Regions from separate parts of the Homo sapiens genome. Here region 1 is linked to region 2. The links are contacts of gene promoters, found by promoter capture Hi-C in blood cells and fetal thymus (Javierre and others, 2016). All regions are on one chromosome and are shown on one strand. Each heading gives the region's core, a stretch centred on a gene start or on the middle of the fragment in contact. The rest is flanking DNA. Distances are from core to core; before and after follow the strand shown. Region 1 overlaps MED13L (mediator complex subunit 13L). Region 2 holds the start of FBXO21 (F-box protein 21).

Evidence for each region. Contacts are between HindIII fragments. The CHiCAGO score rates a contact against its expected background, and 5 or more counts as called.
Region 1: a contact is called between a fragment that was not itself captured here and the fragment with the promoter of FBXO21 in region 2, in 4 of 17 cell types (total B cells, fetal thymus, naive B cells and 1 more). The highest score is 7.2, in total B cells.

The regions. Positions count from the first base shown.
Region 1 is chr12:115,986,391-115,990,104 of GRCh38, forward strand. It overlaps MED13L (mediator complex subunit 13L), which reads right to left. Exons shown (of 31, transcript NM_015335.5): 18 at 719-898; 19 at 1-99. Among named protein-coding and RNA genes, the nearest start is that of LINC02463, 100 kb to the left of the region's middle. The HindIII fragment of the contact is 1,336 bases long and covers 1,317-2,652 here.
Region 2 is chr12:117,188,940-117,192,669 of GRCh38, forward strand. FBXO21 (F-box protein 21) reads right to left here and starts at 1,531. Exons shown (of 12, transcript NM_015002.3): 1 at 1,279-1,531; 2 at 288-423. The coding sequence starts at 1,517. RefSeq lists an enhancer at 658-747 and silencers at 1,218-1,267, 1,548-1,647, 1,688-1,747. The HindIII fragment of the contact is 6,345 bases long and covers 259-3,730 here.

The sequences.
Region 1 (3,714 bases), core at 735-3,234, 1.2 Mb before region 2:
CCCAAAACGGCAAGGAGAATGGCGAGATGGTGAGGAAATCCTTGTCATAGCCTACCAGCAGAGTGGGGATGGGCAACGGCTCAGGAGATTCTTCCGAACCTAAAATGACATTGTAGTGTAGAAAGGTGCTAGAGAGTTTTTCCCACAACCTTACAATTTTGAAATTCCTGGTGCACTGGTCTTAATTCTGGCATCTGAAATGTCACTCCATGTTCACAAGACATTCTTAAAAGTATTTTTGAAATCATCTAATTAAATGGTCACTGATGAGGACTCTTAATTAAGTAAGTCAGAATTTGTTTATAAAGGTTCAGTAAGATCAGAGGGCAGACTAGAACAAGTTAAAATTAACTTTCCAAGCAGCACTACATCATTTCCTTCAAGATAAGCATTATGATTCTGACTATGATGAAGTAGACAGAACTGGCCCAGAAGTCCATCCAGATGAAAATGCAGTGAGGATTGGGAAAATGAGGAGAATCTAAAAAATGCACTTTTTAGGGATTAGCTTCCTCACTGACCTGGATTATGCCAAGGGTGGTAGGAAACTTGACTCCAAAAGTAACTTTAGGAAAACAAAGAGATTATAAAACTAAATGGTCAAAGAAAAAGACTCCCCTATTTTGTTAGTGACGCAAGGACTTGACAGTAACTAACGCTGCTCTTCACTGAACAGCACTGAAGTCAGAAGGAATTTTAAACAGGACAAAGACCCTACCGTAGGTTCCCCGTCCTGCCATTTTATGGAACTGCTGCCAAGTGAGTGGTCCCTGCACATGCTGGATGTTCTCCCAGGTCCTGCCCGTGCGCTTCTTTTGGATGGCATCTTGGAGAAAGGGCTGCAGGGACAACAGCATACGAACCACATCCTGGGAGGAGAGCATGCTGATGTCCAGCACTGGAAGAGAAGTGAGAAGAAACAGAGAAGATAAGGGGGCTAGCACCCTCCTCTTCCTCACCATCACCTCGAGCCTCAGTTATATTCAGAACAATGACGTTATTAGCTGTAGTAGATTCTAAAATATTTGACTTAGGAGTCAGGAGGAAAGATATTCTTCTACTAAATTAGAGAAAATAATTGATAATTTAGTATCAACAATAATAAAAGGGGAAATGGATTACTCTATATAAAAAAGTTTAATGGAAGAATTGTTTAAAAGTGGAAAAATGGATAGGTGCGACTTTTTAAAACCATGGAAATCTGTTTCCAAGGATTTTCATAAGACAGCTGCAAAAGTTTCTTAATTATTACTTTTATTTGCAAATATCAATGTTTTGTTTATATGATAAGTAGGAAAAAATGGAACTTAAATAAAAGCTTTTAAAAACTCTTTAAATGCTCCTAATTGTAAAAATATTTTCACAAAATACAGAATGCATGAAGAGAAGGCCAATCTTCAGTGCAGCCAGAGGCACAGGGAAACACAGCTGAAGCCCTCAAGGACCGAAGTCCGCTGCAGGCACGGATGGGATTCACTGCCTTCTAAATGCAGATGACTTTAGTCCCAGCAGTCGCCCTGGGGAGGGATTTCTAACCTAAAATTTGAAAGTTGTCTGAACTCCATGCAAAACTGTGCAAGCACGCTTGGACATACGTATTTTTTTCTCAGGATGGAGGGTTCATCATGCAAATCAGATTCTTAAAAAGGTCTGCAGAAAGAGCTAATGACGCTGGAGGTGATGTGGTGTGAATCTGCACAGCTGGATTCCTGAAGACTCTGCCTCCCTCTTACCCTTCTAGCTGATGAGGGAAGGGGCATGGAAAGAAATCTAAGATTTATCTGCCAACTAAATTTGAAACACAGGATGATTAAGGATTCTTAAGACATTTTCAAACGTGTCCCTAAATCAGTAAAACACAGGTTGCAAAGTGGTGGTCCACAGAATATTTTGTTAAACTTTGGAACAAATCACTCCAGGAAATTTCACACACAAATCTAGATTGCCAGCTTCCCTTGAACTGGGAGACCCATATTCCTGCATAACCACCACTTGCTGGAGCTGAGGAGCAGCTGTCCCTCTCAGGCACCTCATGGCCCCTTCCCTGCTGTCTGTCCTGAGTCTGATGCAGTTTTCATTGCCTTTTATCTTCAGCCAGTGCTTCTTTTTACATATAGTAAACAACAACAGTGAATACTTCTTGTATTAATGGCTCTATCAAAAGCAGGAAATCACAGACCAAGAGAACCACAGATTTGAGGAAACTAAAAGCAAGCACGTTTCTTATGAACCCTATTCCTGTGCCTGCAAAATAGAAAGTGAGTTTTGAAAAGACAGCTTAAGGCACTGCCTTTTGCAAATGTCTCCCATCACATTCATTTACATTATCTGGTACTTTTAGGCATCTTAAAATTTGAAACCCAGACCTCCCCTGCAATAAAATGTCTTATTTTTCATCCTGAAAGACGACACCACTGATTCATGCACACAGACTGCTTTTCTGTCCGAAGGCCTATCTAGTAAAAGGACTCACCCAAGCTGATCATCCACATTTCTTTAGGGGAAAGGCTGCATTTTCTTCACTTCATAAATTCATTCAGTAGAAACTGATTAAGGGTCTGCTTAAGTATAAGGCACTGTGCTTGAACCTAAGCAGTTATACAAATGAGCATAACCCTTTAATGCTTTCTTAGTCATCTCTACCTCCATGAAAGCTTCCTTGATTGGCCTAGTCAGAAAATACCCATCACTCCCCATACTCTACTGACCTCTGGACATACTTTTAATTACTTCAGATTTCAAACTGTATTTAAGAAGCTTATATAACTTTCTTCCCTGCAAGACTGAGAGTTGTTCAGAAGCCGGGTTCGCACATCATTCACACAACCCTTCCAGTCTGGCCTCTGCTCCCACCACTCTACAGAAACAGCTCTCACCACGGTCAGAAGACATGTTTAATCCTTATCTTAAAATCTTCACTTGCATTTTAATGCCTGTCAATCACTTCCTCTTTCTTGAAACACTGGCTACCCCTGGCTTCCAAAAGCCCCCTCTATGGTTCTTCCTTCTCTGCTTGATAGGCTCACGCTTCTCTGCCTCACCTATACCCGTCAGAATGTAGCTAAGCTCTACCAGGTCCTCTTCTCGTCTATACTTTTCTCCTCCTCCTCAATGAGCTCATCTGTGCCCCCTTAATTGAAGTTATCACCTATATGCCAACCACTCCCTCTCCCCTGAGCAAAAGGCCCAAGAGTCTACTTGATACCTCTACCTGGATATATCAAAAGGGATCTTTAAAACTTCCAAACTTCCACAACTCAATTTATAAACTTTCTCTCCAGATATAGTCTTATCTTTGAACACCACTGACTATCCAGGTATACAAGTAACAAATCTGGGACTCCTCAACATCTCTCTTTCCCTTATCCCCAAAACTCAACTCACTATTGAGTCCTGCAATAATATTTCTTCTCCACCTTCTTCACAAGGACACTAAGGCAAGCTATTGTTTCTTACTAGGTCTTCCTCACTAACCTCCTTGTCTCCCCAAATCCATTCCTGCCACTTTCTAATCCATACCCAGAATTATAGCCAGTGCACATTGTTATTTTTCCTTTTTAACTACACAAATCTGACATCAGTGCTTCTTCTTAAAACCTTTCAATGACTTTGTATTGCTTTTTGCAGGAAGACCCAACCCCTAGCATGCCTCTAAAGAGTCACTGTAATCTAGCCCCTGCATGCTTCTAACCTCGCGTCAGTTTCTAAAGGCCC
Region 2 (3,730 bases), core at 281-2,780:
ATGCTGATCTGGACTCCGTCTACATTGTGCTGCGTGGGTCCCTCCCTGCTCCCTCCACCCCCACTCTCTCTCTGGCTTTAGAAAAGTAAAGCTGGCACAGACAAATGGCTTCGTGTTGTTGGATAGGAGGAAAAGGACACAATGACTCTTGCAGCCATCTAAGTGAGTAAGGGATTGTGAGAGCATTGAAAAGGGAGATACGAAAAGAGCTGGATGAGCTCATGCCTGCAGACCCAGACACATACACCAGCAAGCCAAAGCTTAGAGCCACATCAACAGATCCTTACGTGCTCTGAAAAGAACCTCTTTGAGAACGAGGCTACAATCTTCCGCGCTTCTAACCCAGCTTTTTGCCGAACTTTATACTCTTCCAACCAATTGACGTAGTCGGTGGGGCTGTAGTGTTTCATAAGGGAAGGCCACCTACGAGGAGAGAAACACCCCCTCAGCTTAACAGAAACTCAAAGGCAGGCGGCCACGAATCCAAGGCAGCCTTGGAAACAGGGACAGCAGTGGCGTCCAGTGGTAAGAGGGACCCCGGCGAGAGACCTAGTTCAAAACCCCACCAGCATTCACTCACTCACTCCCGGTGTGACCTTGGCGTAGCGGCATGAATGATGTCTCCATTCCCCATCTCTAAAATGGGGACAGTTGTAACAACAACAACAATAATAATAATGACAATGACAGTGAGCACTGATTGAGCGCCTCCTAGGAGCCGGGGCCCTGCGTGCGTGCCTCCCGGACATCATCTAATTTAATAAACACGGTGAAAGGTAGGTCTAATGATCACCACCACTCAAAGTCTATGAACGAGGCTCAAAAAAAGGGAAGTCGCTCCCCCCAAGGTCACAGAGGGAGTGTGCAGGGCCAGATTTCATCCTGGGGCCACGCTGAAATCTGTGCCGTCCACAACCAGCCCGGGGATGCTGCGCCCGCCCGATCGATGCATCACTGGGTCCATGTAAACATTTCAGCCCGAAGTCGGGCACAAAAGAAGCGCGCAAAAGGGACGAGCCGCGCCGCCGCCAGCGTCACCCTTGACGGAGGACCCGGCTGCGAGGCGCTCCTAGATGCGCCATTTGGGGACCCGGGGGTCCGCCTGGCGTGGCCCCGCAGGGTCCGGGGCCTGGAGGCCTTTGTCTGTCTGTCCGCGGGAAGGGGTCCGGGGTGGGGTCCGCGCGCGGGGCGGCCGCGGGGAGCTAGCGGGGCGGCTGCCCGGCCCCGGGGGGCGCGGGGCGGTGGGCGCGCAGCCGGGGCGCGGGGCCGCTGGCTCACCTCACCCGGAACTGCTCCTTCCACACCTTCCCGCTGCTCTGGCACAGCTCGCGCAGCCGCCGGCAGGTGCTGGAGACACGGCCGATGTCGGCGGCCGTCAGCGAGCCGCAGCACAGGATGTACTCCAGCACCTCACCCGGCAGGTTGACGAGGCAGCTGAGGCCCGCTACCTCCGGCGCGGCCTCCTCCGCCAGCGCCGGCACCACCTCCATCGCGCTGTCGACTGCTGCCGCCGCCATCTTGTCCGCGTACCTGGGGCCGCCGCGCGCGCGCGTGCGAGAGTGCCCGGGCGCCCCGCCTGGCCCCGCCTACTGGTCTTGGGGGCGAGTCCTGAGATCGCTCCGCCCATCCGCGGGCCACACCTCCCCTGCATCGGCTGGGGGCTGCGCGGGTGGCAGCGCCGCAAAAGGGAGGACATAATTGGGCTCTGTGCTTGGAGCCGGCAGCGCAAGCCGCCTCTAGTCCGGGACAACAATAGTAGCACTGATTCTTTTAAACGTAATTAATGTTTAAAATTAACAAATAAAAATGGTATCTATTCTCACGCGTGCTGAGCGCTTTCTGTGCGCATTGGACCTTTCCGAATTACCCTGCGAACTTTCTCCCCATATTACAGATGGGGAAACAGGTTCGGAGAGTGAGAGGGCTTGCTCAGGATCCCTTGTCTTGGATTTTTTTTCCCCCTTTGGGAAGGAGTCTTGCTCTCACCCAGGCTGGAGGGCAGTGGCGCTATCTCGGCTCACTGCAACCTCTGCCTCCTGGGTTCAAGCGATTCTCCTGCCTCAGCCTCCCGTGCGGATGGGATTACAGGCGCGCGCCACCACCCAGGTTGGAGTGCAGTGGCCGTGATCTCGGCTCACTGCAACTTCCACCTCCCTGGTTCAAGCAATTATCCTGCGTCAGCCTCCCGAGTAGCTGGGATTACAGGCGCCCGCCACCACAGCCAGCTAATTTTTGTATTTTTAGTAGAGACAGGGTTTCACCATGTTGGTCAGGCTGGTCTCGAACTCCTGACCTCAAATGATCCACCCACCTCGGCCTCCCAAAGTGCTGGGATTACAGGCGTGAGCCACCGCGCCCAGCCCCTTGTCTTGGATTCTATTTCAGATCCACTTGACTTTTGCTTGTCAGTAATCTTAACCATATGATGTAATAATAACAATATTCTTGAGTGGGTGCTATGGGAAGCCCTCTATGATGGTGTAGGGGAGTAATAATAATCCTCAAATGTGTGCCCTGATTTTAGGCTAATAGAGGGCAGGCAGAGAGCTCTCCTGTACTGGTTTCTTAATTGTTTCCAGCTCAACAATCCTTCATATTTGGGGAGCATAGTCTGACCTCCCACAATAGGTACCACAGTTATACCTATTCTACAGAAAAGGCAAAGTTCTTCCAGGTGGCAGTCACTGGTTCAAAGTTACAGAGACAAAAGTGCTAAAGCCTGGATTTGAGTCTTCAAAGCGGGAGTTATCACTCAGGATTGGGAGGGTAGTCTCAGGATCTGCACATTAAAAAAAAAAAATCAGTTTAGTTCAGTGCCAAAGCCCTGTGTTGTGTGCCCTGGGGATACAGGGGTGAGAAAAATGGAGTCTTTGCTTCAAAACCTCAAAGTGCAATTACAGTTAGAAGGATCTGTTGTCAGTACATGGAGGGTCCAATGAAGTACTCCTGGCAACTTGGAAATCAAGATGCCCTGAGAGAGCTGAACTAGTAAAGTGACTCTCAATGGATGGCGTTGAGCCATCTGTGGCTCCCTATTTCCCGTAGAAATGAATGTGACATCCCAAACATTGTTGCAAAGCAACAAACTCCACCTCTTCTTACCTATCTGAAGTCTTTCTCTCTCACTAGCCATGCATACCCCAGCAAGGCTGGTCATCTCTTTCCTCCCATTTCTGGCCCTACATATACTATTCCTGCTGCCTGCAAGGCACTTCATGCAGTCCTCCCCTTCCAGTAGCTCCTCCTCTTCCTCCAGGGCTCAGCTTAACCTTTCCAAATGCTCTCCCTTCCCCCGCCCCAGCACCAGCACCAGATATGGCTCCTGCCCAGCATTTTGCAGTCTTGTAATTACTTAACTTACAACTATTCAACATGCATCTTTCCCACTAAATCTGAAGGGAGTTCAGTGCTAGGACTGTGTCTGAGTCACCTCTAGAAGCCTAGTTACTTGACCCATGCCCTGCACAGAGCAGATTCTCAATTATCTATTGATTGCGATAGTCTAACCAGCTGTTTGACTAGGGAAGTTACTTAGCCTTTCTGAGGCCCAGTTTTTTATCTGTAAAATGGGAATAATAATTAATAATAATAATGCCTGTCTCCTGGGGCTGTCATGAGAATTAAATGAGGAAATTCATGTGAGGGGCATAGAACAGTGGCTGGTATAGAAAAAATCCTTGAGCCGGATGCGGTAGCTCACACCTGTAATCCCAGCACCTTGGGAGGCCAA